Linked DNA regions of Homo sapiens: regions 2, 3, 4, 5 and 6 are each linked to region 1. The links are contacts of gene promoters, found by promoter capture Hi-C in human tissues and cell types (Jung and others, 2019). All regions are on one chromosome and are shown on one strand. The core of a region is centred on a gene start or on the middle of the fragment in contact, and the rest is flanking DNA. Distances in the headings are between cores, read along the strand shown. Region 1 holds the start of PLEKHO2 (pleckstrin homology domain containing O2). Region 2 overlaps DENND4A (DENN domain containing 4A). Region 3 overlaps CSNK1G1 (casein kinase 1 gamma 1). Region 4 overlaps CSNK1G1 (casein kinase 1 gamma 1). Region 5 overlaps CSNK1G1 (casein kinase 1 gamma 1). Region 6 overlaps CSNK1G1 (casein kinase 1 gamma 1).

Evidence for each region. Contacts are between HindIII fragments. The study calls those that stand out against the background at their distance.
Region 2: a contact is called between a fragment that was not itself captured here and the fragment with the promoter of PLEKHO2 in region 1, in 1 of the 25 tissues and cell types used here (adrenal gland).
Region 3: a fragment that was not itself captured here is called in contact with the fragment with the promoter of PLEKHO2 in region 1 in 2 of the 25 tissues and cell types used here (liver and pancreas).
Region 4: a contact is called between a fragment that was not itself captured here and the fragment with the promoter of PLEKHO2 in region 1, in 1 of the 25 tissues and cell types used here (sigmoid colon).
Region 5: a contact is called between a fragment that was not itself captured here and the fragment with the promoter of PLEKHO2 in region 1, in 1 of the 25 tissues and cell types used here (heart right ventricle).
Region 6: a contact is called between a fragment that was not itself captured here and the fragment with the promoter of PLEKHO2 in region 1, in 4 of the 25 tissues and cell types used here (IMR-90 fibroblasts, bladder, dorsolateral prefrontal cortex and 1 more).

Annotation. Positions count from the first base shown.
Region 1 is chr15:64,839,318-64,844,234 of GRCh38, reverse strand. It overlaps PLEKHO2 (pleckstrin homology domain containing O2), which reads right to left and starts at 2,320. Exons shown (of 6, transcript NM_025201.5): 1 at 2,207-2,320. The coding sequence starts at 2,218. It overlaps LOC124903508 (a long non-coding RNA gene), which reads left to right and starts at 4,079. Exons shown (of 4, transcript XR_007064682.1): 1 at 4,079-4,381; 2 at 4,539-4,644. RefSeq lists enhancers at 1-64, 1,113-1,664, 1,697-2,220 and silencers at 2,028-2,467, 2,478-2,797. The HindIII fragment of the contact is 9,878 bases long and covers 1-4,917 here.
Region 2 is chr15:65,711,615-65,716,531 of GRCh38, reverse strand. DENND4A (DENN domain containing 4A) reads left to right here. Exons shown (of 33, transcript NM_001320835.1): 14 at 909-1,054. Among named protein-coding and RNA genes, the nearest start is that of MIR4511, 5.3 kb to the left of the region's middle. The HindIII fragment of the contact is 4,650 bases long and covers 1-4,348 here.
Region 3 is chr15:64,207,575-64,212,491 of GRCh38, reverse strand. It overlaps CSNK1G1 (casein kinase 1 gamma 1), which reads left to right. Exons shown (of 12, transcript NM_022048.5): 7 at 4,898-4,917. Among named protein-coding and RNA genes, the nearest start is that of PPIB, 47 kb to the right of the region's middle. The HindIII fragment of the contact is 4,963 bases long and covers 1-4,502 here.
Region 4 is chr15:64,227,610-64,232,526 of GRCh38, reverse strand. All of the region lies in intron 4 of CSNK1G1 (casein kinase 1 gamma 1), which reads left to right. Among named protein-coding and RNA genes, the nearest start is that of PPIB, 67 kb to the right of the region's middle. The HindIII fragment of the contact is 8,680 bases long and covers 1-4,917 here.
Region 5 is chr15:64,248,564-64,253,480 of GRCh38, reverse strand. CSNK1G1 (casein kinase 1 gamma 1) reads left to right here. Exons shown (of 12, transcript NM_022048.5): 4 at 1,900-1,969. Among named protein-coding and RNA genes, the nearest start is that of PPIB, 88 kb to the right of the region's middle. The HindIII fragment of the contact is 3,241 bases long and covers 645-3,885 here.
Region 6 is chr15:64,295,431-64,300,347 of GRCh38, reverse strand. It overlaps CSNK1G1 (casein kinase 1 gamma 1), which reads left to right. Exons shown (of 12, transcript NM_022048.5): 2 at 1-29. Among named protein-coding and RNA genes, the nearest start is that of CSNK1G1, 58 kb to the left of the region's middle. The HindIII fragment of the contact is 7,582 bases long and covers 1-4,917 here.

The DNA.
Region 1 (4,917 bases), core at 1,071-3,570:
CTTGGCCCAGGGTGGCCGGGCACAGGGAGGAAGCTGAAAGCTAGCAGGAGGGCTGAAAGCAGCCATGTGAAAGAGATGATGAAGATGGCCTGGGATCATGGGGCAGAGCATGTGGCTATGACCTAAGAGGTGTTTTAGAGAAACAAAGATGGGCACTGAGGCCTAGTGCAACAAGCGGAAGCTACTGGGAGAAGTGGGAGGAAAGCAGAGTTAGGGATGCCAAAGGGGAGTAGGGAAAGGAAGCCCCTGCTGTGGGGGTGAGGCTTGCAGGGGCTTGGGTAAAGTGGACAAGAACTTAGATGGCCCAGATATTTAGAGAGCTTTGGGCATCTAGGAGTCAGAAAGTGGCAATATAGGCTGGGTGCAATAGCTCATGCCTGTAACCCCAACACTTTCGGAGGCCGAGGCAGGCGGATCACCTGAGGTCAGGAGTTCGAGACCAGCCTGACCAACATGGAGAAACCCCATGTCTACTAAAAATACAAAATTAGCCAGGCGTGGTGGTGCATGCCTGTAATCCCAGCTATTCAGGAGGCTGAGGCAGGAGAATTGCTTGAACCCAGGAGGTGGCGGTTGCGGTGAGCCAATATCTCGCCACTGCACTCCAGCCTGGGCAACAAGAGCGAAACTCCGTCTCAAAAAAAAAAAAAAAGAAAAGAAAGTGACAATGTGAGAGATTCAGGACCAAGGGTGTACAGAGCTGAGCCGGGCCCAGGAGGTGTCCGGAGAACTTCCCTTAATCAGGGGCCAGCGCAGATCAGGAGATGGAGTAATCCTGACCCACATCCTCTGGGAGCAGGGGAGGGGCCCTGGCCAGAGAGCCCAGCCCTTGCAGCAGGGGCCTGGGGCAGGCAGATGGCAGCCCCACCTAACAGCCAGAAAGAAACCGCAGCAAATCACAGAGGCCTGACTTTGCCCCCTACCTTCACCCACTGAGAGAACCGGCCACTGTCAGGCCAGGAGTATGAGGAGGACAGGCACTATATTTTGTAGAAGAGGAAATGAAGGCTGAGAGGGGAAGTGACTTATCTACCATCCCACAGAAAGGCAGGGCCTGGCCTAGAGGGAGCCCTGACGGACCACTAGCTGCTCCTATCCATGGCCCTGGAAAAGTGGGAGGTGGGCACTGAAGGGACACAGGCAGTCCGGTCCACTCAGGGCTTCCCAGCTGGCCAGGGTTCCCCCAAGGCAGAGAACTTCATCTTTCCTCCCCATCCAAGGAGGCAAAGACATGCCCCTTCCCTTGGGCTGAGAGGGGCTGAAGCTGGGACCCCCTCAGGGGATAAGAAACAAATTCACCTTCCTCTAGACCCAACAGGCCCCTCATTTTAACTTAATCATTCCACAGGCATATATTAAGTGCTTGCTGCGTGCTGGACCCTCGGATAAAGCGGCTGCTGGCAGAACTGAGTTTGCAAGTAAAGGGCAGGGGCAGGGGCAAGACCCAATCCCAGGCCAAGAGTGTTTTGAGTGGTTAGAAGGAGGCTCCAGGGACACAGTTGGTCCAGCCCTCGGGTGGGGAAGGCAGGGACTAAGATCAGACCCTAGGTGGGCCGGACTCCCGATTCCTTCCCTACAGCTAGCTGCTCAGATGGATGTGGAGCGGGGAGAGAGTGGGGGAAAAGATACAGAGACTTATACAAGGGAGAAAAAAGCAACTTCTCCAATCCTCCTGCCACCAAAGCATGGTCACATCCTTGAGACAGGAACCCCCCAACACACACATACACACACACACAGAGTCAGGATCCGATCCTTGAGACAGGAACCCCCCAACACACACATACACACACACACACAGTCAGGATCCGACACACACACACACACACACACACACACACACAGAGAGAGAGAGAGAGTCAGGATCCGACCACGGTAATCGGGGTTCGAGCCCAGTCACCCAGGCCACTTTCAGCAAGTCATCAATCTCGCTGGAGTCTCAGTCTCCTGGTCAATCCAATGGGAACGGTAACAACCACGACGCCCCACAACTGGTGAGAAAGTCAGCGAGAATGAAGGAGGACGCGGTCTGCGAAGTCCCCGATATGGATCCAGCCCCTCGCCCCTGCCCCATTTGCCCAGGCTCTTCCTGAGGTGAGACTGGCGGGAGTGGGGCGGGCAGGAACGAGGGCCTGAGCCCAGGACCGCAATCCCCGTGAGGGGCTCGAGGACCCCAGCCCAACGCCCCGCCGGGCCCCGCCCTCACCTCCTCCTCCATGGCGAGTCCGCCGAGGTCCCGCCGCTCCGCCACTCGCTTCCAGCGCCGCGCGGGCTCTGCCACCGCGTCTACGCCCGGCCAGGCGGCGACTCTCCGCGTTCTGTCCCGCCGGCTGCCGGGGGCCCAAGAAACTTCGGGGGGGCGGGGCCGGGGGCGGGGTGAGGCTTCCGGGGGCCGGGGCGGGGCCGGGGAGGGGGCGGTGGGGCCGGGGGCCCGGCCCAGGGCGGGAAATGGGTGGGGAGGGGCGGGGCCTGGGTTGGAGACTGGACGGAGGAGCCGGGCGGAGATGCAACTGGAGGAAGAGGGCGGGACGGGGCGGAGAAGGTTTCCCGCATCGGCGGAGGGAGAGGGACTAGGAGGGGGCTGCGGCGGGGGAGGAGAGGGGGCTTCCGGCCCAGAGACTGAGGCGAGGGTGGCGGGAGCGGCGCGCAGGCAGGGCTGGGGTGGGGCGCACACAGTGAGCGCTGGGGGCGCTGGCGGTGGAGCCTTTGAGGTCTCCCGAACCAGTGGGCTGGGGTTGCGAGACCGAGCCGAGCTGCCCTGGGCGGCCAGAGATGTGGGCACACAGAGGCTCCTCCTCTTTCCTCCCCGACGCCGGGCAGTGGGCGGTGGCCTGGTCTTCTCCCTGGAACCTCTGGGCGGGGCCGGGCCTGGAGCTTGGGTCTCTGTCCGGAGGGTGGTGTCACAGGAAGAGCTGGAGCTGAGAGTCGGGACTCCGGGGTCCCTTTAGGGGGCGGCCCGCCCCTGGCTCTCAGGGGTCTCCAAGCGCAGTGTTCTCCTGCTCTCCTTGGGCATCGCTCAATCCCTCCCGTATCTGAGGGTCGACCATCCCCCCGATCCCGCGGTGAGCTTGCAGCCCTGACAGCCTTACTGGAGAGTGGGAGTGTGGGGACCAGCAGAGAGTAATGATTTTAGTTATACCATGCGCCCTCATTTTACATTGGAGAAACTGAGGCCCAGAGAGAGAAAGTAACTGGCTGCATCGCAGCCTGCAGCACCGCTCCCCTCTCACACACACACGCATACTCCCCCTTAGCTCTCCTGGTCAACCCCGTCCCATGCCAAGGAAGGGAAAATTAAGTGCATGTGAGATCAATGGTGACCTTCTTCGGCTCTGGCTGCCATAGCAGCGGCTGTGCCAGCGACCAAGCTCCCCTTTCACGGCCTTCTGCCAGCCCTCAGGCTCCCAGGCTACTTCCAGCCCTGTACGGAAAAGGGCAGCCTGGGGCTCCCAGGCCAAGGGGGAAGGAGATGCAGGTACACTTCTCCCTCATGCCTAGGCCTGGGATCCTTTAGCTAAAGGAATGAAGAAAATTGAGGCTGATATTATCACACTGGTCAAGAAAAAGAAAGAATAGAAAAGAAAGAGAGAGGAAGGAGAGAGAGAGGAAGGAGGGAGGGAAGGAAGGAAAAAAGGAAAGAAAGAAAAAGAAAAGAAAGAGAAATGAAGGAAGGAAAGAAAGAAAAGAAACAAGGAAGGAGAGAGGAAGGAAGGACGGAGGGAAGGAAGGAAAGAAAAGAAAGAGCTGGGAGCGGTGGCTCACACCTGTAATCCCAGCACTTTGGGAGGCTGAGGCAGGCTGATCACCTGAGGTCGGGAGTTCAGACCAACCTGACCAACGTGGAGAAACCCCGTCTCTACTAAAAATAGAAAATTAGCCAGGCGAGGTGGTGCATCCCTGTAATCCCAGCTACTTGAGCGGCTGAGGCAGGAGAATCGCTTGAGCCCGAAAGGCGGAGGTTGCAGTGAGCTGAGATCACGCCATTGCACTCCAGTCTGGGCAACAGGAGTGAAACTCTGTCAAAAAAAAAAAGGGAGAGAGAGAGAAGGGAGGGAGGGAGGGACGCAAGGAGGGAAAAGAGAAAGAAAGAGAAAGAAAGAAAGGAAAGAAAAAGAGAGAAAGAAAGGAAGGAAGGAAAGATGAAGGAAAATTGAGGCTGAGGATCTGAGATAGTCTGTATATGTAGCAACCTCTTTCGGCCACCACATGGTTTTACTCCCTCAATCTGCAGAGCTGTGCAGCATTCTACTCCAATGATCAAGGACTCAGAAGATCTTGTATCTGGAAACTCATGCTCCACCTGCAGCAGACCAGAGACCCTGGGGAAATTCATTTTGTTACACAGAAGCAGCCCTTTGTAGGGAGAGAGCAGTGAGGACAGGTTGGTTTGACATCCAAATAGTTCTGTCATTTTGGGGAATGAGCCATTGAGAACTACTCTGGCCTCAGTTTCCCCATCTAGCTCAAAAAACCCTCTGGTTTTGCCTCTATACTGTGTGCTTTCATTCAACACATATTTTATTTTCTTTGTCTGTCAGTCCCTACAATAGTGGCTGGGAGATAATGGCAGAGCTCAGGATCCCTGTCCTCTACTGGGGAGAAAGGCATGTAAGAAGATGAGAATGCCGAGTGTTAAATGAGAAGGTAAATGCACAGAGAAGGGGCACCAGAACCAGGACAAAGGGGTAGGACAGGCATTCTAGGGAGAGGGGACAGCGTGTAATCAATGGCATGGAGGCATGAACAGCACAGCATGTGTATGTAGGGCGGCCAGTCTGGAAAAGCAGACAGCTTTGTGCAGAGAGGGCCTTGTAGGTTGTGTGGAGGAGACCACATTTTAACCTCAGGGCAATGGGAAGTCATTGAAGGTTTGGGAGGTGTGGGGGTCTGTTTTGTGTGTGTACCATTTAATCATTC
Region 2 (4,917 bases), core at 774-3,273, 870 kb before region 1:
ATTCTCAGTAAACTGTTGCAAGGACAAAAAACCAAACACCGCATGTTCTCACTCATAGGTGGGAATTGAACAATGAGAACACATGGACACAGGAAGGGGAACATCACACTCTGGGGACTGTTGTGGGGTGGGGGGAGGGGGGAGGGATAGCATTAGGAGATATACCTAATGTTAAATGATGAGTTAATGGGTGCAGCACACCAACATGGCACATGTATACATATGTAACAAACCTGCACATTGTGCACATGTACCCTAAAACTTAAAGTATAATAATAATAAAAGAAAAATAAAAGAAAAAAAAAAGAAAGAAATTAGCCAGACAAAGGTAAAGTAGGAGAGTGTTTTACGCAGAGAGAACAGTTTACACAGTCCCTGAGACTGGAAAGAGCTTGAATTCCTGGGCCTGAAAGAAGGCCCAAGTGCAGTGTAACTGAGCATAATTAGTAAGGTGAATCAGGAAATAAACCTTTTCTCTGTTTTCAATAAGTAAGACACAAACATGAATGAATACGAGGGAATGTTACTGCTGCTTTGAGAAAGCCATTTATATATATATGATATATATATTTATATGGAGAGAGTGTGAGAGCAAGTATGTGCACATAATATGCAAAGCTTTTAGGGGAAAAGAGAGCAATTTTCAAATATACTAGTTTATAATCTTTAAGATGGTGAGAGAACAGTGGAGACAGTTCTGGATGAAGATTTGAGAGATCTGGGTTTATGTTCCTTTATTACTATTCTCCTATTTCTTTGTCAGGTCATTTTCCCTCTCAGCACTTGCGAAATGGTAGTGGTGTGGGAGGTATAGATGACATGGTTGTTCAGATTCTTTCTAGTGCAAATATTCTGTGAATCTATGAATGATATTATGTATTCTGACATTATATATTTTTGTTGAACAGCTTTCTTAAGAAGCCGGGACCGGTCACATCAAAAATTCTATAACATGATGACCAAAACACAAATGTTTATTCGCTTCATTGAAGAATGTTCTTTTGTTAGTGACAAAGATGCAAGCCTGGCATTTTTTGATGATTGTGTAGATAAAGTAAGTAACAGTACATCTACAATGCCCTAACTTATTTTGTGTGACTGTTATAAATGTTATGAGTTATAGTTTCTATGTACAGCTTTTAATGAAATTGAAATTAATTTCATTTTCATCGTTGACCACTTAAATGAAAGTTTTGGTAGCCTGCTAGAAATTATAGAATGCACCTCTTACAATTACCTTGTAGAATTTTACTACAAGGTAATTGTAATCATAAGTTTTATTGTAGCAATCAAGTCCTAACCCTCCCTGTCCACTTACAAAACCAGGAATTTTTTGCCAGCCTGTGCACCTCCAACTTGAACGTCTGTGATTTTCACCTCTCCTTTTTGTCTGATATGGGTTATCACATGCTGAAAGTAGGTGTGAAAGTATAATAAATGTTTTACCTGAATATTTCTACAATTGCGAATGAGTTCGTAGCTTAAATTAATTAGTTCTGTAATTTTAAATTTATGTATGAAACCTTTCCCTTCAGTCCTAATATCATTAGGTAGGACAGAGCAAGGCAGGTATTCATGCTGGAGAGAGAGGAGGTAGTAGGATGGTAGTCCAGAGAGGGGTTTCAAAACCTAAATAGGGTGGAGAGAGAGGAACAGCCTAGCTGGAATGTCAGAGCCCAAGCCAGGTAAGGAGAGTATTCCTGGAGAGGCATGGTCTAACATGGAGAATCAGAGGACAGGCAGTTTAAAGAGGGTATCCATGTTCAGGGGCAGACTGCTACAGGGTGTCAGAACCTAAACAGGATGAGAAGAGCATTCATACAAAGGTGAGCACAACATGCAGTGTCAGAGTCTGAGCAGGGTGAGGAGAGTGTCCTCATGGGGATAGCAAGGGAAGCAAATGAGATGTCAGAATTTCATATAGATGAGAGAGGTGCCAGCATGGTGGGGCAGGATTTGGTCTGGAGGGGGTTGTCAAAACCACATTAAGGTGAAGAAGTCATCTGTGTGGGAGAGGGGTGGTGGTGAAGATGGGAGAATGTTACATATGGGGGAGATTGATCAAATAAGTATATTAAAGATAATAAAGTTTTTGGGTTTTTTTTTTGTTTTTTTTTTTGAGACGGAGTCTCGCTCTGTCACCCAGGCTGGAGTGCAGTGGCGCGATCCTGGCTCACTGCAAGCTCCGCCTCCCAGGTTCACACCATTCTCCTGCCTCAGCCTCCCGAGTAGCTGGGACTACAGGCACCCGCCACCATGCCCGGCTATTTTTTTGTATTTTTTTAGTAGAGATGGGGTTTCACTGTGTTAGCCAGGATGGTCTTGATCTCCTGACCTCGTGATCTGCCCGCCTCGGCCTCCCAAAGTGCTGGGATTACAGACATAAGCCACTGCACCCGGCCAAAGATAATAAAGTTTCTTATTGAGAGAAGAGATTTACAAATACAGAAGTGAAGAAAACTAAAATGAACCCCATAGTGTTGGAATAGAATTGGAGATTTGCTGTATATCATTGGTTTTCAATGATAGATACAGAAATAAATGTAGATGTAAGTATATGTGTCTGTGTGTATATATACATATATTCCCTACCTCTGTACATTGAGAGGACCTGGATGCAGCCACACCCCAAAAGCAATGAGCACACCTAATGTATAGATTTTGACTTCTAAATACCATTCTCCACTAAAAGAATCAGGACTCAGAGAAATGGCCAGCCCCAGGTTTAGGGCAAGGACATTATTAGGCGATAAGCCCAAAAGTATCTTGTGCTAGAAAACCAAGAATTGCTCTAAGAATGATGAGACATGTTACAACAAAATACACACACAGAAGTCAATTTGAAGGGATTTCCACAGGCAAATCTAGGACAATTTGAGCATCAAATGTTAGTAACAGATTAGCCCATTGAGTAAAATAAGAAACCATGAGTGTACACAGATATCAATCAACTGAAAGTCATCTGAGAAGCAGGATCTTACATAGTTATTAAGGACCTTCCCACAAAATGCATATTAATGACAAAAGGGAAAAGAGTAACTTTATAGTGGAAAAGCCTGGCAAATGCCGTTTTAATCAAGTTATCAAAATGAACATCATCTGTAACGGGACAAGTCAACATTGTGTTCCTCTAATAGGTTACAATGAGAATGCAACATCAATTCTGTAATATTCCTGCAAAAATGTATGACCTATATAATCTCAAGGAAATACCAAACACATATTAAATGATATTCTACAAAATACTTATTCTGTAATCTAGAAAGTATTAAGGTTAAGAAAATAAAGTAAAAATGGAGAAGAAACTTGTCTAAAGTGAAGTAAGAAGACTTGACAACCAAATGCAGTGCTTAGTTAAGAACTAGATCCTTTTGGCATAACATTATTAGGTTAATCGACAAAACTTGAATGTGGTTTGAGGAGTATGTAGTAGTAATGTATTAGTGTGTTGATTTCCAGTAATAATGTATCAATGTTAATTCCCAGATGATTGTATTTCTGTAGGAGAATGTCTTTGTAGGAAGTATAAAAGTATTCAGGGGTGATGATGGGTCATCAGCTCAGCAGCTTACTCTCAAAGATTAAGGGAAGAAGTTACTTATACTGTGCTTAAATTTTCCTGTAAATTTGTATTTAAATAGGTATATAGTATCCATGATGTTATGGCCATGATAATAGAAAAAAGGAAGAAATAAAAGCTTTATTATATATGATCACAACAATTTGTAACGTTAAGATTATTTAAAGAAGTCCATCACTTTCAAATTTATGTGACTGTGAAAGAAAATCAGTGAGTTTTTTTTTTAACACAACAGCCAAAATACAACTCATCCCTTGATATTCATAAATTGGTTCAGTTCTTAGTTTAACATAAAATTGGCCTTACTGATTGTTAAATATGTACCAAATGTGTCATATAAAAATGAGAAGTGATTCTCACTATGAATAGGAAAATAGTGTACTAGGAAAAACATACTACATTGGGAATCAGAAGTACTTTAATCTTGACTATTATACTTGTGACTTTAGTCATTTAGTCTTTATATGTTGTTTTCTTATGTATGTTTTTAAAATGTTTTGAGGAGAAATAATTATAGCTGCCTATCATAGCGTTCAGAGTAGTGTTGTATAAACTAAAAAGAAAATATTATGACTGTTTTTGCCTTTAACTGGGTTTTATTCACGTTTATAGATTAATGGTTCATTTGGTTTATCATTTCATAACAGAAATGTTCAATTTTTGAATGATTTGTACATATGAACAGGAACACATTCAGAGCCTTGTAGACATCTACCTTTTCCTTCAATTTAGAACACTTGAGGGATGATTGATACAGAGAAATACTCTTTCTGGTGCTGTTAGGGAATTAACAAATCAAAGTATCCAGAAATATCATCCCTAGTTCTTTCTTGAAAATGCTTTGGAATAGGGAAAAGATGGATACATGCCATTACCTGCTTAAAATTCTCAATTCATTTTCCCATAGAAACACTGTTATAAATGGTGATTAGCCATACTTCAAATGGTAGCAGTGTTTTGCTATAAATACGTGTTAAATTTTTATAAGTTGGGCATGGTGGTGTGCACCTTTAATCCCTAGAGCAATTACTACCAGCTACTCAAGAGTCTGAGCGGGGAGCCCAGGAGTTGGAGTCTAGCCTGGGCAACGTAGTGAGACCCTGTCTCTAAACAAAAACCAACAACAACGAAGTATTAATTTTGTGTGTGTGTGGAATAATATGCTAACCACTTTTTAAGACATTTTTAAAAATCAAATTTATTGAGATATACAAACAGTAGATACACCATTGATGTACAAAGTTTAATGAGTTTTGACAAATATGTATTTCCATGTAACCATGAGTTCCAAATATTTTCATCACCCCAGAAAGTAGATTGTTTTGGGGGAAGATTTA
Region 3 (4,917 bases), core at 772-3,271, 630 kb after region 1:
CCTGTTGCCTCAGCCTCCCAACACACTGGGATTATAGATGTGAGCCACCATGCCTGGCCTGCACATTAATAAGTATTTTAAAGACTAATGTAATATCTACTAAGTTCCCTCATTGAGTAAACTACACAGGTTATTCACCTGAGGAATTCAAGTGATAGTGAAGAGTAAAAAATGGCATTACAAAGTAGTATGATACAATTCGATTTGAAATTATGATGTTATCAAGATTTTTTCAGTAACCACATGGAAATCCTCACTTAAGTAAATGTAATACTTTAAAATTAGACTAGAGGTCCTCTGGTACTTACTATCAGCGTTACTTTGGACAAGTTACTTAATCTCACTGAAACTCCTCTGTAAAATGAGGGTAATGCTTCACAGGGATATTTTGAGGGTTGAATGGATAATATATGTGAAAGCACCATGTCTGACATAGGTCTCTTGCATAGTGCTCAGCATCCCCTTCTTCCTTCACAATGACAAGTAATTTTCCATTTTACAAGGAAACAAAAACTGTATCTTAAATAATAAACTTAAGATTATGTGGTTTAACTGACAAACTCTAGAAGTTGTTTTAATGCCCACTTCCTGGGCTCAGCCATTTGTGTACTAATTTTATTGTTCTTAAGAGGAAAGACAAGAACAGACAAGGGATGGGTGTTCATGTTATGTTTGTATAAGATACAGAGTAGTGGTTAAGAAAAAGGATGCAAATCCTGGCGCTCTTTCTTAATAGCTATGTAATTTTGATCCAATAACCTTCTTCCCTCAGCCTCGGTTATCTCATGTATAAAATGGGTATGATAATTATGCCTGTAATATATGGTTCTATGAGATAATGTATGTAAAATGTTTAGCATAATGCCTGATAATAGTAATATCAGTCCATATTGTAATTATCCCGATTATTATTTATTCAACAAAATCTGTTTTAAGCATCTACTGTGCATCAGTCTGTTTCATCTCTTGGTGTACTGCCATTCCTGCCGGGACTTTTGAGTTTACCCCCAGACTTGGCTTACTGAGTACCAGAGTTTTTCAGGTCAAATCTAACCTGTCATCATATTTTGTGCTCTCTGCATTACAGAGAATACATAAAGAAAGTTGTCACTGCTTTTTAAACTCTTTCCCATGCCTCAAACGATAGAAGTTTTTGTAGGAACTCTAATGCTATTGGTTTTTAAATGTGTTGCATTTTTTTGTGTTGCAAAGAAGAAATGACTGAGATGTGTATTTTCAAATGGCTTTGAGAAAATCACTTCTTAATTTTACAGAGGAGGAGGACAAGAGAAGAAGCCTCCTAAACCTTGCATTAGTTGCCACATCAGAGTAGCCACACTTACTTAGTCCATTTTGTGTTGCTATAAAGGAATACCTGAGGCTGGGTCATTTTATAAAGAAAAGACCTTTAAATTTGGCTCAGGGTTCTGCAGGCTGTACAAGAAGCATGGCACTGGCATCTGCATCTGGTGAGGGCCTCAGGGGCCTCATGCTGCTTCCACTCATGGTGTAAGGGGAAGGGGAGCAGCCAGCATGTGCAGATCACATGGGAAGGGGGGTGCTAGGCTCTTCTCACCAACCTGCTTTCTTGGGAACTCATCCCTAAGGGAGGTCGTTAATCAGTTAATGAGGGATATACCCCCATGACCCAAACACCTTCCATTTGGCCCAGCTTCGAACATTGGGATCAAATTTCAACGTGAGGTTTGTGTGTGTTGGGGGGTCCGGGGGAAGGACAGAAATCCAGACCATAGTAGCCACCTTCCCACTGATTAAGCTTTTACTGAGAAGCCCAATTTATATTATTTAATGGTTGAAATTAGGGTGAGAACACTGGGTTACCTTGCTCCCTGCCTTCAACAAATATATTTAACCTAAAATCAGGGATGTTATGCATGTAAACCAAGCACATCTTTCTGATTGGATGAAAGCACACCTTTCAACCAATCAGAAGAATTGAAGAATTTTGTGTCCTGCTGGTCTCACTGGTATTGGAAACCTTTCTTCTTTGAAAATGAAAATATGCTGCATGAAAAAATGAGGGCATGTAGAAATAATGAATTGGACAAGTGTGGAGTGTTCAAAGTCGTATGAAAATAAAGCATGCTCTGGTTTTCACTCTTATTTTTTTCCTGAAAGGCCCTAAAGGCTTAAGTTATCAGATTATTTTAGAATTTTAGAGCTGGAAAATGACTTTTCAAATTCTCCCCAGATTGAACACTTTATTTTCAGATGAGGAAACTGAGACCCAAAGTAGGTGACTTGACCATGCTTAATTTCACTGGATTAAATTAGTGGAAAGGATAAACCAAGATCTAGATACCTAAATCGTTGAGCTGATTTAGGTACCCTTATTTTGGGTACCTTATTTAGGTACCCTTCCTGATTTAGGAACCCTTATTTTTCCTATTGTCCCATATTCTATAGTTCTTTTTCATAGTTCTCAGGATTTGAAAAGTTACTTTATTACTTATTCCAGTGAGTTTTAAAAATATATTAATCTCATAATTTATTTTGCTGTGAAATCTTTTTTCTGTAGGCCTGATCAATATTGAAAATGTGGAGAGTTTTCGCCCTCTAGTGCTCAACTGTTTAAAATTCAAACATTTGTCCAGTGAATTTTTAATAACCAAGGGGCTTCTTGTTACAGGAAGTGGATATAAAAATGGAGAGGCAATGAGTAGGTGTGATACAGTATGAGAAACTGCAGAGTCGTTTCTCTATCTGCCCTGCTTTGTGGGAGGCCTCCACTCAACTCTCCTTGTTCTTTTCTCTTTTTCATTTGTGCATCCTTAGGTTGTGTCAACAAACTGTTTTTGTATAACTGCTTTTTTTTTCAATTATGAATATTTTATTGCAAACTTCAGACAAGCCATGTAGACAAAGGATTCTGATGGTCATGCTGTTTTCATTCTTTTTAAGATTGTTTCAATTGTTGTATACCAACTCAGTTTTATGTTATTTATCTCTGTCAGGGTACCTCTCCTTCCCATTAGTAACCATCTTTTTACAACCTCCATCAAATCATTATTTAAAAAGTTGCCTTTTCTTTCTTCATCTACCCTGTAGACTACTATTCTTTTTCATGCAAATTCCCTATAATTTAAGGCAATAGTTAAACATGTTGCACTTCTGTATTTTGAGTTAGCTGAGTGGCTTTCTCTGGCTCTCTTGGGTTTTACTTTCTGTACAAAGAAAGCACAATCAAGTTGAAGGTAGCCTCTTAGTCTTGCTTCTGTAGTTTATTCAGATAAAGCCCTAAACTTGATTCTGAAAAATAAACACATAAAATGTCTGAGATGGGCCAGGTGTGGTGGCTCACACCTGTAGTGCCAGCACTTTGGGAGGCCAAGGCTGGTTGATTGCTTGATTGGCCCAGGAGTTCAAGACCAGCCTGGGAAACATGGCAAAACCCAGTAACTATAAAAAATACAAAAAGTAGCCAGGGATGGTGGTGCATGCCTGTAGTCCCAGCTAGTGAGGAAGCTGAGGTGGGAGGATCACTTGAGCCCAGGAGGGCGAGGCTGCAGTGTCCAAGAACATGCTACTGTACTCTAGCCTAGGCAACAGAGCGAGACCTTGTCTCAAAAAAAAAAAAAAAAGAAAAAAGAAATCTGAGACTAAACCATAATTGGCAAATTCAAAATGAATGCATGGACTGGGTGCAATGGCTCACATGGGTAATCCCAGCAGTTTGGGAGGCTGATATGTTAGATTTGCTTGAGGCCAGGAGTTTGAGACCAGCTTGAGCAACATAGCGACATCCCATCTTCACAAAAAATAAAAATAAATAAATTAGCCGAGTGTGGTTCCACACACTTATATTCCTAGCTACTCAGCTGAGGCAGAAGGGTCCCTTGGGCTCAGGAATTTGAGGCTGCAGTGAGCCATGATCACAACACTGCACTCAAGCCTAGGAAACAGAGCAAGGACTCTGTCTGTAAAAAAGAATAAAGAAACGAAGGTGTGTACTACTTAGATTCTAACAATCAAAGAATGTGTAGGATGTTTTCTGAGATGAAGTTGCAGTTTTTTGTTAACTATTTTGCAGTTCTTTGTCATCTTCACCTTCCCAATTAAAAGGAGAGAAAAACCCAGCAACTTGTTTTAGATACGCTTCCAGAATGCAGGGACTTTGATTTTTTGTTTTATTTTGTTTTGGGATGAGGTCTCATTATGTTGCCCAGGCTTATCTCGAACTCCTGGGCCGAAGCGATCCTCTCACGTCAGCCTCTTAAGTAGCTGGCACTACAGATGTGTGTAGCCTTACCCATCTAATTTTGAGGAGACCTTAGTAATAAATTCTAAAATGTTTTTGAGGTTATAGGACATGGTACAAATTGAATGGGAGCCAAGAGAGTATGTACTGATGTTCATTGATATGAAACTTAATTTTAAGTGTTAATTTTTATGATGAATAAAAAGCACTTGGCATGTTTGCTAGGCATTTTGCAGCTTGTATCTTTGCAGGCCTAGCCAGAATGGACTGTTTTAACAGTTTGGGTTGCTTAATCTGCTGCTCACTCTCTGGTGGTAACTAAAAGGTAATTGTAGCCCATATACTGGAAATAGCATTTCATTAAAATTTTATCACTTTCAGGAAGGTGACAGCATTGAGTGAGGGGTGGAAATTCACTGTTTAGTGATTTGGGCTTGGTTTTAATTCAGAATTTGCTCTTTTCTCTTGATATTTACTTACCATCAACAGATCTAGGCAAAGGAAGTACACATCGGTTTAGGGTTTTGATCTAAAATACTATCCTTGGTTTAAATATACAAGTAATTAGTAAGCAGAGCCTTTCCAGAGCCGAAGGGTTTCTGAAGGGATTACTTGGTTTTGAACCTCTTTCTGCTTTAATAACTGCAAACATAATGTGTGATCTGTCTTCCCTTTTAGAGCAAAGCCGGAGAGATGAT
Region 4 (4,917 bases), core at 824-3,323, 610 kb after region 1:
GAATTATTCCTATGATTATGAGAAGGCAGAATTATGTATCTACTGTATTATATTAAAACTTAACTAGTTCCTTTCCAGTATCTGTCAGTGTCATTGGTAAGAAAACATTTCCTTAAGTTCCAGTAACAAACTATTTAAAGATAGATAACTCCTTGTGCCTACTATCATAATAGTAATCTAGCTGCTAGCTAAGCCCTTTTCTATTTGAGAATATAAGTTATTTGTAAGTGTGCTTGGAACAAAAACCAATAAAAAGATCAATTTTTAACATTTGTGACAATTATATTGTCATTTTCTTTCTACAAAAGTAATTTATATTCCATCCATTAAAAGAAGAGTTTGTCAGATCTGCACGATTCTGCATTCTTGTGCTTTCAGCAGTCTAACACACTTTTAACATTTTTCTGCATTTTCTTTTCTTTATACTTCATATTGCCTTAAAGCCAGCCTGTAGGTAATCTCTTCTACATTAGTGATAATGCAAGGAGATGAAGTTTTCACTAACAAAACACTACACATCACTGTGTTTATAGCTACCACTATGCTGGGTAATTTGAGGGCCAAAGAATTATAAATAAGATGATCTCTGCCCTTCAGTACACTAGAGTGTCATTGGAAGGAAAATGTAATATTTACTGAGCTTACAGTATGTTCATGTTAGGACAGTGAGGTTAATGGTAGGACAATAATGGTAAGTAACTGTAACACAAGCTAAAACAGTAGAATGTTATATATATTTTTAAAATGCATATAAAATGAGGAAGTTCTGAAAGAAAAAATGGTTTCTAATTTTGAGAAAGAGAAAAGGTTTTATAGAGAGAGTGGCATGTATGGGGCTGAGCTTTAAAAAACGACTATGATTTATTTGAACATATAAAAATGGAAGAGTAAGGAAAGCTTTCCAAGTACAAAAAATAAACCAAGTCCCAGAGGCTGCTATGTCTCTGTTCATGCATTTATTAAAGAGATATTCTTGAGCATCCCACTTGGGTTAAGTACTATTCTAAGCTAAGTCTTAGGGATACAGTAGTGAACAAGATAGGCACAGCACCTAATATATATATGTATATGTGTGTGTGTATATATATATATATCCTAATATATATATACATATACATATATGAGCAAGACCTCATCTCCAAATATATATATGTTTATATAAATATAAAATATAAATATATATATAATATATATATATTTGGAGATGAGGTTTTGCTCTGTCACCTAGGCTGAAGTGCAGTGGTGTCATCACAGCTCACTGCAGCCTCAACCTCCTGGGCTCAAGAGATTCTCCTACCCCAGCTTCCTGAGTAGCTGGGACCACAGGCATACATCACACGCTCAACTAATTTTTTTATTTTTTGTAAACATGGGGTCTCCCTATGTTGCCCAGGCTAGTCTCGAACTTTTGGCCTCAAGCAATCCTCCTGCCTCAGCCTCCCAAAGTGCTGAGATTACAGGTGTGAGCCACCATGCCCAGGCTTAATTAATGTTCTAAAAGGAATATAACCTGCAATTTTATTTTATTTTATTATTTATTTATTTATTTTTTTGAGACGGATTCTCGCTCTGTCACCCAGGCTGGAGTGCAGTGGCACAATCTCGGCTCACTGCAACCTCTGCCTCCTGGGTTCATGCCATTCTCCTGCCTCAGCCTCCTGAGTAGTTGGGACTACAGTCACCCACCACCACGCCTGGCTAATTTTTTTGTATTTTTTAGTAGAGACGGGGTTTCACCGTGTTAGCCAGGATGGTCTCAATCTTCTGACCTAGTGATCCACCCACCTTGGCCTCCCAAAGTGGTGGGATTACAGGCGTGAGCCACTGCACCCGGCTGCCATTTTATTTTTAAATACCCTCACAGACCTGAGTACTCAAGTAATGGGGACTGTCGTGCTAAATGTTGAAAATAGGCCCAAGCCTAGAGTCAGAATAGGGACCAAAGAAGATTTAGAACTCTGGCAGTTTGGGAAGGATGAGGTGGGAGAACTGCTCGAGCCCAGGACTTCAGGACCAACCTGGGCAACCTAGTGGGACCCTGTCTCAACAAAAAATTAAAAATTAGCCAGGCGTGGTGTCACACGTCTGTAAGTCCCAGCCACTCGGGAGGCTGAGGTGGGAATATTGCTTGAGCCTGGGAAGTCAAGGCTGCAGTGAGCCATGGTTTGTGCCACTGCACTATAGCCTGGGTGATAGAGTGAGACCCTGACTTAAAAAAAAAAAACCAAAACTGGCAATTTGGCACTATATACTAAAATATTAACTATGCAAGCATTTGACTCAGCATTTCCTGTTTAAGGAATTAACATTCAAGATATGTTTACCGGGCAGGGCATGGTGGCTCACGCCTATAATCCAAGCACTTTGGGAGGCCCAGCGCGTCAGGTGATCTGCCTGGCCAACATGGTAAAACCCTGTCTCTACTAAAAATATAAAAATTAGCCGGGCACGGTGGCGCATGCTTGTAATCCCAGCTACTCCAGAGGCTGAGACAGGAGAATCCCTTGAACCCGGGAGGTGGAAGTTACAGTGAGCCGAGGTCGCGCCACTGCCCTCCAGCCTGGGCGACAGAGTGAGATTCTGTCTTAAAAAAAAAAAAAAAAAAAAAAAAAAAAAAAAAAAAATTTACAAACATGCCCAAAAATATAGGCTTAAGGATTTTTTTTTGTAGTATTGCATGCCTATTTGTCTAGATGCTTTTATTTGCCAAGAGTAGAATCCCAGTTCAAGCTCACTTGAGAGAGGGAGAGGAGAATTTCTTGGCTCACAGAACTGAGAAGTCAAAAGCATTCTCACTTCAAGCCATCCAGATACAGGACTAATAATGTCCTTGGTCCATAGGTATGTGATACATTTGCCTCTCTTTTTTTCTCACCTCTTCTTTCTCTGCATTAGCTTCATTCTCAAATAGGCTTTCTCCATGTGGTGGTCCCTGGCAACTCCAGGCTGAGCTGCTTTCAGTTTAGCGATCAGGGAGAGAGAGAGAGAGAGAGAGAGAAAGAGAGAGAGAAAGAGAGAGAATACTCCTCCTTCTCTATAGTTCCACAAAAGTCCTAGAGTTGACTCTTGTTACATGAGAGACATGGCACCCATTCCTGAGCCAGTTTTCCCAGGCAGGCAGATAGAGTATTCTGAGTAATTGGGCTTGTGGCATCCTCGGGATGTCAGTGGGAGATGGGTTGCCCCCACTTTAACCACATGAAGTAACACTGGGGAAATGGTACTTTCCACTGTAAGAATAAGGTGGTGTTATCAGAAGGAACAAAAGGATGCAGACCAGGCAAAAGCAATAGGTGTTCACTATAATATATATTTCTAATTAACACATGGAAACAGCATGAATGCCCATCAGTAGGGGGAAAGTTAAACAGATATGTTACATGGTGGAATACTATTATACTACTATTAATATGTAGCTATTAAAATGAATAAGGTAGGTCTATATGTTGATAAGAAAAAATATCCACTCTGTAGTATTTTTCTTTTTCTTTTTTTTTTTTTTTTTTTTGAGACAGAGTCTCACTCTGTCGCCCAGGCTGGTGTACAGCGGTATGATCTCAGCTTACTGCCAACTGCTGCCTCTGAAGCTCAAGTGATCCTCTTGTCTCAGCCTCCCAAGTAGCTGGGACCACAAACACACACCACCACACCTGGCTAATTTTTTGTAGTTGTGGTAGAGACAGGGGTTTCACCATGTTGCCCAGGCTGGTGTTGAACTTCTGAGCACAAGCAATCCACCTGCCTTGGCCTCCCAGACTGTTCGGATTATGGGCGTGAGCCACCATGTCTGGCCCATGCTATAGTATTAAATTAAAAATGAAGTTGCAGTACACTGTTCTTAATCATGTGCCTTTGTGGTTGTGAATACTTTTTCTTTTTCTTTTCTTTTTTTGAGACGGAGTCTTGCTGTGTTGCCAGGCTGGAGTACAGTGGCATGATCTTGGCTCACTGCAACCTCCGCCTCTGGGGTTCAAGTGATTCCCCTGCCTCAGCCTCCCCAGTAGCTGGGAATACAGGCGTGCGCCACCACGCCCAGCTAATTCTTTGTATTTTAGTGAGACGGGGTTTCACCAGGATGGTCTGGAGCTCCTGACCTCGTGATCCACCTGCCTCGGCCTCTCACAGTGCTGGGATTACAGGCGTGAGCCACCGTGCCCGGGTGTGAATACCTTTTCTTTATATGCTTTTTACTGCTTTTGGTTTGCTGTTATGTTTGGTTGTCTAAAAATGGGTAATATAGATATCCATGCTATATCTGTCTGTTTATCACTTTTATAATTTAAAAAAGTAATGCCCCAGGTGGTTCCTGTTCAAGACCAGGGACTGGAATTGACAAGGCTTGAGAACCACAGAGAGGTGGACAGGAAAGGTGAAAAGATAGTGTTTGTGGAGCTGATTTTAAAATAATGGGGGAGAGGGCAAGAAAATTTCTTAAAAATTAAAAATAAGGGAAGCCAAAAGGGTGAGTAGGACAAATCAAGCTGCCTGTGGAGCATAGTGGGGGATTTATGTACTGGAAAGGTGATAAAGAATTGGTGGAAAAAGAAAATGTTAACCAAAAGGGCAGGACATAGGGTTTGGAAGAGTTGGGTTGGGGAGCATGGAGAATAATTTTGGCAACAACACAGATGAAAAAGAACATTGAGAGTAAGAGAATGTAGGCAGCTTAGTGTAGAGAAGAGAACAGTGAATCTGGAATTGAGAGATTTGGTTGTATTATTTGGGAACCTAGGAGATTTCACACAATATTTCTCAGGGTTTTTATTTCATCTGTAAAATGGGGTCTTTAGTACTTCCCCTGTTTTTCCTTACAGGATGACCATGAGATTCAAGTGTGGTAGGAAAAGACTACTTAGGTGAAGAAAAGACCGTGTATTTCCAAGTTAAATGGGACCAAAATAAAGAATTTGTTTATAA
Region 5 (4,917 bases), core at 1,016-3,515, 590 kb after region 1:
TTGCATTCCCATCAGCAGTGCACAAGGGTTCCAGTTTCTCCACATCCTCATCAACACTTGTTATTTTTCTGTTTTTGATAATAGCCATCCTAATGGGTGTGCAGATGTTGAGCTTTATTTTATTTATTGATTGATTGAGACAAGGTCTCACTCTGTCGCCCAGGCTGGAGTACAGTGGCACAATCACAGCTCCCTGCAGTCTTGATCTCTGGGACTCAAGCAATCCTCCCACCTCATCCTCCTGAGTAGCTGGGACTACAGGAGCGTGCCTCCCTGCCAGGCTAATTTTTTAATTTTTGGTAGAGACAAGGTCTCCCTATGTTGCCCAGGCTGGTCTCGAACCCCTGGGCTCAAACAGTTCTGCCGTCTCAGCCTCCCAAAGTGCTGGGATTACAGGCATGAGCCACCATGCCCGTCCTATTTTATTTATTTATTTGTAAAGATGAGGTTTTGCTGTGTTGCCCAGGCTGGTCTTAAACTCCTGGTCTCCAGTGATCCTCCTGCCTCAGCCTCTGAAAGTGCTGGGTTGGCAGACATGAGCCACCATGTCAGCTACTGTTGAGGTTTTAAAGAGAGATTATAATGTGTTTAGGGTAATGTTTGGTTTTCTTGTTAGCCAGTTGCCCAGTACACTGTCAGTTTAGAATAATCAGCCAGCCAGTTGCTCAATTGGTATAGAGCAAAGTATGGTTGTTTGGCTGCTTTATCTCTGAGGTTTTTAGAAAACTCCATTTTTGGAAACTTGAACACCACATTGATTGAAGTTACATATTTTAATTGCATTTACAATCTTTAATTCTCAATAGTTTAAAAAGAAATATACATAAGGATGTTCCTAAAAGCATTGTTCATAATATTGGAAAATGAAAACAGTTCACGTGTCCAAAAATTATGGGGAGGGTGTGTATACATACATACATAAATACATATCCACATACAGGGCAATACTCAAACCATTAAAATAATATAAGCCAGGTGCAGTGGCTTATGCCTATAATCCCACAGCACTTTGGGTGGCTGAAGTGGGAGGATTGCTTGAGCCCAGGAATTTGGGACCAGCCTAGGCAGCATAGTAAGATCCTATCTCTACAAAAAATTAAAAATTAGCTGTGAGTGGTGGCACACACTTGTGGTCCCAGCCACTCGGGAGGCTAAGATAGGAGGATGACTTGAGCCTGGGAGGTTTTGACTGCAGTGTGCAAGACCCTGTCTTAAAAAAAAAAAGAAATTATACACGTTTATTTACCGCCATGGGAATATGTTATTACATTGTTGAATTCAATAGCACATTAATGAACAGCAAATATATTATAATCTCATTTATATAAAATTAAGTTCATTAGTCTATATTATATATATTAATACATATATAGATAAATAAATACTTTGAAAGACATTCACTAAAATGTTAATAGTGCCTCTCTTTAAAGTGACAGGATCACAGATGATTTTTACTTTCTTCCTAATTTTTGTATATTTGAATTTTCTTCTGAGCATGCATTATTTTTCTAAAAATAATAAAACCATGAACCACCCAAAATTCTGAACAAAACAAGCAGGAAATACATTCTGGTATTTTTTTATTTAAAGGTTTGGCATCAAGTTTCCTGGCAGAATACATTCCAGGAGAATATTTCATTGCAAGAAAGATATCCTTGAATGATAGCTCATGCAAAGTCTATTTTTATTTAACTATCCATGGAAGGACTTGTATGTAATTCACCTTCATCTTCTCTTAGCTATACTGTCCAAGACCAATTGTGGTTAGAAAAGGCTCTTATATATGGATATTATCTCTAAAACATTGGGTGATCTTAGCCCTCGTTTACTCCAAAAATTTAAGAATGGAAAAATCCCATTTGTTTAAATCTGATCACAGTTTTTCTTTTTGGATTTCAGGAACCAATAAAATCACGTGCTCCACAGCTTCATTTAGAGTACAGATTTTATAAACAGCTTGGCAGTGCAGGTAAGTCAAGTCTTTTCTCTCCACTTACTTAGTATGTATCTTAGCTGGAAGCCCTAAAATATACAAATTTTTTTGTCTGGTTTGCCCTTTTTACCAAACCATCTATCTCCCCTGCTTGCCGGATAGGTAAATAAACATAGTCAACCACAAAGCTACTTGCGCTCTGGTTCCTGGAGTTGAGTTGACAGGGGAACTGTGTTGCTATGACTATGCCCACAGACCAACCTGCAGATGCCTTCCACTTGTCAAATACTCATAGTGTGAAGGATTTGCTTTTCAGCAGTTCATTCTCTTTTCTTTACTTATACCAAAAGAAAGGAGGAAATGTTGGTAATTTGCAAAATATACTTTACCATACTGAGATGGTTTATCTGTTTTGAAGACATACTAAAATATACATTCTGAAATATTACAGAACCGTCATTTTATCCATTGTCCTCATTAATTTGCAAGAGCTATCCATATGATTGTAATAACCTATGACCTTCGGCAATTTTTAAAAATTAAGTTAATCACTGTAAAAAATGTTTGTTTTTACCAAAAAGCTCTAATTTCTCAAATATCTTACTGGCTTCCAGAAAAATGTTTTGCTAATGTTTACCTGTAGGGACAAGTCTCTCAGAAGATGAAATCTTTCAGAGCTATTTTCACTATTTGACATTAGTAGAATTTCCTCTGCTTTATGCCCCCTTCACTGTGACAGGTTTTATATGAATGACTAAAGCTTGGTTTCTATTTTTTTTTTCTTTCTTTCTTTCTTGTTTTGGAGACAGGGTCTCACTCCCATCACCCAGACTGGAGTGCAGTGGCACGATCACGGCTCACTGCAGCCTGGGCCTTCTAGGCTCAAGCAGTTCTCCTGCCTCAGCCTCCTGAGTAGCTGGTACTGTAGGCATGCACCACCACACCAGGCTAATTTTCTGTATTTTTAGTAGAGATGGGGTTTTGCCATGTTGCCCAGGCTGGTCTTGAACTCCTGGGCTCAAGTGATCCTCCTGCCTTCAGCCTCCCAAAATGCTGGGATTACAGGCATGAGCCATCATACTGTTTGTTCTATTTCAAGTAACCCTATGAAGGTACTACTGAAGGAATTTGAGTTCTGCATCCTAAAATATTTAGAATTATATGAGTCATTGTGTGTTATTCAAGTTTTATTATACCCTGACTATAGCAATAATCAGCTATAGTTATAACCCAGGGAGCCCACAATGGACTTGTCTTTCATTGAACTTAATATGAATTCTTGCTCACAGTAGCCTCTCAGTATATATTTGTTAATTGATTGGAGTGTTTTTGGCATAAGATTTAAGACTGGCAACTGAGTTCACAGGGTGTATACATAACTTGAGGCTTATCTTCCCACATGCCCCAGGACTACATTTTAATTGTTGTTCCTCTTACATTCCTGGTTTTATAATGTTGTTAAGTTATTCTAGGTTTCATAAGTTTTAGGGAAAAGACTGTCACAGCCCATTTATGATAAGCATGTTTGTATATGTCTCATAAATCCAAGGGTCAGGTAACAACATGCTTAATCCAGTCCAGCTTAGAAGTTTAAGTGGGGAAGTGGACAGGCCAGTTTTCAGGATTTCCTCTGTAAGCCCTTTCAAATAGATCCACCAAATCAGACCAATCTTCCCTTTTCAATATAGAGCCAAAAAAAATCTAATGTATTTGTTAGGTAGGAATAACATCTGTGCTGCTGGGTTGGTACTCTTCCCAAATACAGAAAATTGCAAGCTCTTGAAGTTTCAGCATTCTCTGTGCACTGAAAGCGAGGAGTAAACAGGGAGGGCATTAGAGGAAAGGTGACTATACAAATTGCTTTTCACTTAAGCAGCAAGGAAAAACTGGAATCTCTGAGACTGGTATATCCATCATTGTCATGAGTGGGAATAGGAGGGCTCTGTTGTACTGGTTAGGCCAACTGTTGACTCATAGTCAGGTAGGCTGGCCATCGTTGGTCTGTCTCCCAGTACCTTTTCTAACAAACATGTAAAGGTCACAAAGCCTTCTAGGTCCTATATGCAGTTCAGTGGTGACTACTGGCCTCTTTTCTGCTTCTTGAGATCACCCACTACTTCTAAAATAGCTGCGGTGGGCATCATCTTAATACCCTTGCCTGCAACTAACAAGGTAGCTGCAGACTTTTCCAAGATAGGAAGTGCTTTAGTTTTCTGTTTCAAATCCCCTTGCTACCCCTACCCGCTAGTGTAAGAATTACTTTTAGGATTTTCTTACAGTCATCTAAATCGGCTTGACTACTTAGTTCTAATCATAGAGTTCACCACTCTTCAGGCTAATTTAATGTGGGAAAGTCCAGTGTATTTGAAGTTCTTCATATTAGGCCCAAGTTTGCCATTTATTTATATATTTATTATTTTTAAAATTTAGATGGAGTCTTGCTATGTCACCAGGCTGGAGTGCAGTGGCACTATCTCGGCTCACTGCAACTTCCGCTTCCCGGGTTCACGCCATTCTCCTCCTCAGCCTCCCGAGTAGCTGGGCCTACAGGCGCCCGCCACCATGCCCAGCTAGTTTTTTTTTGTAATTTTAATAGAGACGGGGTTTCACCATGTTAGCCAGGATGGTCTCGATCTCCTGACCTCGTGATCCGCCTGCCTCGGCCTCCCAAAGTGCTGGGATTACAGGCGTGAGCCACCACGCCTGGCCAATTTTTTGTATTTTTTTAGTAGAGACGGGGTTTCACCATGTTGGCCAGGATGGTCTTGATCTCCTGACCTCGTGATCTGCCTGCCTCGCCCTCTCTAAGTGCTGGGATTACAGATGTGAGCCGCCGTGCCTGGCCATATTTTTTATTTTATTTTTTCCAGAGTCCAGATGAGGAAGAACATTGGGATATTTTTAAAATCCTGATTATATTATCCTATTGATGATTAGGCATTGACTATTTTTTTATTGTAATTGCATATTGGTCCCACTCTCCC
Region 6 (4,917 bases), core at 167-2,666, 540 kb after region 1:
ATGTGGGAACTTCGGAGAGCTCAGATTAGGTAAGCACTTGGTTATGTCAGTGACTTCTACTAACAACAATACCTATGATAAGCTTTGGTGTGTTTCAAGACAAGCCGTTTATAGTTTTACAAGAAATTTTTCTTAAGGAGAACCTGTTGTTAAGAAATAATTTGTGAAGGGGCACTATAGTCATTATCAATTATTTGTTATCCAAGGCTCATCTCTCTTTATGTGTGTGCGATGGGCTTTTAAGTTTTCTACCAGTTCTGAGATTTTCTGATGAACATAGAGTTGCATACAGATATCAGTAAAATGCAGACTCTGATTTAGGATGTCTGAGGTGGAGCCCCAAATTCTGCATATTTTTACAAATTCCAGGTGATGCAGATGCTGTTGGTCTTTTAAGAAGGACATAAGGCCTTGGTTTAATTCAGACTCTGCCCCTGAAAAGAAAAGAGTAAATCCTTACTCAGTAATACCCAGGCTTAGTCTGCAAGGATATACAGTACATCCTGTTTGGAGAAATTTTCCAAAAGATAATTTGTTTGCGTTTCTTCCTGGAGTTTCCAGCATTAGAATTAAGTTAGAACTCCAAGGAGAAGTTAGGCAATTTTATTTCCCAACTAAGGCAATGGATTTTCTATTTCAATTATGAATTTATGGGTGAGATGGAAAATAATGACAAAATTAATCTGTCTAAAAATGTGAGATTGGGAAGAAGGTACATTGGGTATTTATATATATATATAAAATTTTTTTTTTTTTGAGATGGAGTCTTACTCTGTCGCCCAGGCTGGAGTGCAGTGGCGCGATCTCGGCTCACTGCAAGCTCTGCCTCCCGGGTTCATGCCATTCTCCTGCCTCAACCTCCCAAGTAGCTGGGACTACAGGCATCCGCCACCACGCCCGGCTAATTTTGTTTTTGTATTTTTAGTAGAGACAGGGTTTCACCATGTTAGCCAGGATGGTCTTGATCCTCTGACTTCGTGATCCGCCCGCCTCGGCCTCCCAAAGTGCTGGGATTACAGGCGTGAGCCACCGCGCCCGGCCATTTATATACTTTTTAATGGCTCTCCCTTGATGAGTGGGATAGAGAAAATAAAAGGCCGTATAAATATATGAAGTTGGAAATTAGCCTGGAGAATGTGGAAAGGTCATCTTTTAGGCTAAAGTGTTTTCTTTTCCTTCATAGCTCTTGAGACTGTGGATTAATGTGAAGACTCATTGTAAGAAACTTTGGCCCTTTGGGGGGAGTGGTGGGAGGGTGGGAACATAATGTAATTATGTTTGTTACCTCTGCTACTTCTTTTTCTTTTTGAGATGGAGTGTTGCTCTGTCACCCAGGCTGGAGTGCAGTGGTGCGATCTCAGCTCACTGCAACCTCCTCTTCCCAGGTTCAAGTGATTCTTGTGCCTCATCCTCCAGAGTAGCTGGGACTTACAGGCATGTGCCACCATGCCCAGCTTATTTTTTTTTTTTTTGTATTTTTGTGGAGACGGGCTCTTGCCATATTGGCCAGGCTGGTCTTGACCTCCTGGCCTCAAGTGATCCACCCGCCTCGGCCTCCCAAAGTGCTGGGATTACAGGCTGAGCCACTACGCCTGACCACCTCTGCTACTTGTGATGGTCCTGCATAGAGAACATGGACAAAATCTTATCTCTGATCCCCCATAGAGAGCCTTGGAGAAACATCACTATACTAGCCAGAGACCATTTGAATTTAAGAATGATGAGAATGGATTTATTTTTACTGTTAGAAGGCTGACAACCTGGAAATTCAGGACTTAATTAGGATAATGAAAGGATCTTTATATTTAGAATTGTGTTCGGGTTACCAAAGCCAGCAGATGCTACTTACAATACGAGTAAGATGTGTAATTACTGCTTTACTTTCTAGCAATCACAGAGTTGCTTTAACGAATAGTTCTGTGAATATTTCTTTATGTCATAAATTGACTGTAACATCACAGTACTACTTGGATGGATTAAATAATTATGACATAAACATCCATAAAATGATTGCTAAGAGGCAGTTTCTAAAGCATCTAAATCTTTGAATTCTCAAAACATCAGACAATTGTTTCATTTCTGTGAAAGTGAAGAAAAACCTTGGTGAATTAAAAGTGGAAATCTGTTTAATCACTGAAGTCTAGATTTGTATTATAAGTTTACGTGGGAAGGGAAAAATTCATTCAGTTAAAAGCATACATTTATAGCCCATATATATTTTCAGAGTAGTATTGTGTTTTGTTTCCTCTTTGAATCTGAGATAATTTTGATGTTTCTCATTTGGACTTGCCTGTAGTCAGAAGAACTTGTCTTTCTTTTCATGTGCTTTTACTCTTCTCTGCTTATCAAGTTTTCATTAGCCCTGGGACCATACTGTTATGGCCTTGTATCTAGAAAAGATACTTTCAGAATTATCTGGCATCTTCCTGACAATAGAGTGGGCTGCATACCCCATTCCGTCATTTTCTTGTTCTAATATTAGCGAGGAGAAGATTGTAAACTACAAAATTCCAAAGTCAAGGCAGGTGCAGTCAGCCTACATCATGGCTACCACCTACAAAGCTCTGCTTCTCTAAACTAATTTCCTTTCCTAGACACACAGTCTGTCAAACAGCCAAGTGCATTTCTTCTTATTCTTTTTTTTTTTTTGAGAGACAGGGTCTTGCTCTGTTACCCGCCCTGGAGTGCAGTGGCATGATCATAGCTCACGCAGCCTCCAACTCCCAGGCTCAAGCGATCCTCCTACTTCAGCCTCCTTAATAGCTAGTGCATAAGAACACGCCCAGCTAATTTTTTTATTTTTAAATGTTTTGTAGAGATGATGTTTTGCAGGCTGGTCTTGAACTCCTGGCCTCAAGCGATTCTCCTGCCTTGGCCTTCCAAAGTGTTGGGATTACAGATGTGAGCCGCCACACCTGACCAACCGTGTGCATTTCTGCTTCAGAGCCTTTACACTTGCAATTCCTTCTGCTTGCAGAATTATTTCCCTAAAATTTTGCGTAGTGGGTTGTTTCTCATCCTTTAGGCCTCAGCTTATGTCTTACCTTCTCAGAGAAACATTCTATCACTTGTTCCTCATTCTCATTTAAAATAGCACGTTTCTTCTCTAGCACATCCTGTCTCGTCAAACTGCTTTATTTTATTCATTGCATTCATCACTATCTGAAATGACCATATGTATGTTTCCCTATTAATTGCCTCTCCTTACTTGAATATAAGCCCTTTAAAGGGCAGGGATTCTTTCTGTATTGTTTACTGTTATTTATGAGATGGAAGGATAAAAAGCTGATGAATAGGAAGAGGGGGGAAAATAAAGCATACTTTCTTTGGGCTCCAGGTTTATGTGGGGGTGGTGGTAGATAGTAGACCTATCGGTTCCAAACAGCAAAAAAAAAAAAAAAAAAAAAAAAGTAACGATAGTGCATTTTGGTTCTCTGCAAATGTTTCCACCCCATTATACAGTTTTCTTTTTTTTTTTTCTTTTAGATGGAGTTTTGCTCTTTTTGCCCAGGCTAGAGTGCAGTGGCACAATCTCGGCTCACTGCAACCTCTGCCTCCCGGGTTCAAGTGATTCTCCTGTCTCAGCCTCCCAAGTAGCTGGGATTACAGGCGTGTGCCTCCATGCCCGGCTAATTTTTTATTTTTAGTTGAGGCAGGGTTTCACCATGTTGGCCAGGCTGGTCTCGAACTCCTGACCTCAGGTGATCTGCCCACGTCAGCCTCCCAAAGTGCTAGGATTACAGGCGTGAGCCACTGCACCCAGCCTTCATCATACATTTAACAACTATTTCTTGAATATTTACTGATACTAGACTCTGGGAAGGATAGAAATAAGAAGATATAGTTTTTGTCTCTACAAATACCACAGTCTAGTGGTAGACAGAGAAAAACAAATTGCAATACAAAGTGATAATATAGCAGATTGGGGGCTGGGTGTAGTGGCTTATGCCTGTAATCCCAGCACTTTGGGAGGCCAAGGCAGGCAGATGACTTGAGCTTAGGATTTCAATACCAACATGAGCAACGTGGCAAAACCTCGTCTCTACAAAAAATACAAAAATTAGCTGGGTGTGGTGGTATGCACCTGTAGTCCTAGCTACTTGGGAGGCTGAGATGGGAGGATGGCTTGAGCCTGGGAGCCTGATGCTACCATGAGCCAAGATCACATCACTGCACTCCAGCCTGGGCGACAGAGTGAGACCGTGTCTCAAACAAACAAAAAACCAGATTGTATGGAAACTACATTGGCAGAGAAGGTTAATAAAGGCTTCAAAGAGGAGGTATGATTTGATGATAGGACAGGATTTCTGCTGGTAGACATAAGGAAGAAGAGCTTGTGCAGGATACACAATCACTAGATACTGTGCAAGTGCCCAGCATATCACAGCAGCATTTAGTTATACATGACTGGGTCATAGGATGTGAAGTGAAAGAAAAGTAATAGAATGAAGCTTTTAGGTAAGTTGGGACGAAATTGTGAAGTGTTTGCATATATTAAAGCATTTGGACTTTATCCTGTAGGCAATGGGGTCGAATCATCAGGAGTTTTACAACAGAGTGACATAATCTAGTTTATATTCCAGAAAGAGAATTCGGGTTGTATTGTAAGATTAGATCAAATAGGAAAGAAGTTGACATCTTGTAGATTTTGCTCTAATTGTAATACTTATCATGTTGTACTTTATTCTTCCATTTCTCTCTCCCAAGATAGGTGTAAGGGTATTACTTTGCTTTTTAGTCCTCATATTCTAATTCCTTTCACTGTGTGTGGTATGTAATGGGTACTCAAGAAAGGCTGAATTGTCCAGGTCAGAAGTAGCAGGGCCTTTGGTCTTAGCTCTGAAAATGGAAGTGAGATGGAGAGAGGACAGGGTAAATTAGAAATTTTAGACATAGACTTTAGGCAGGATTTAGTCA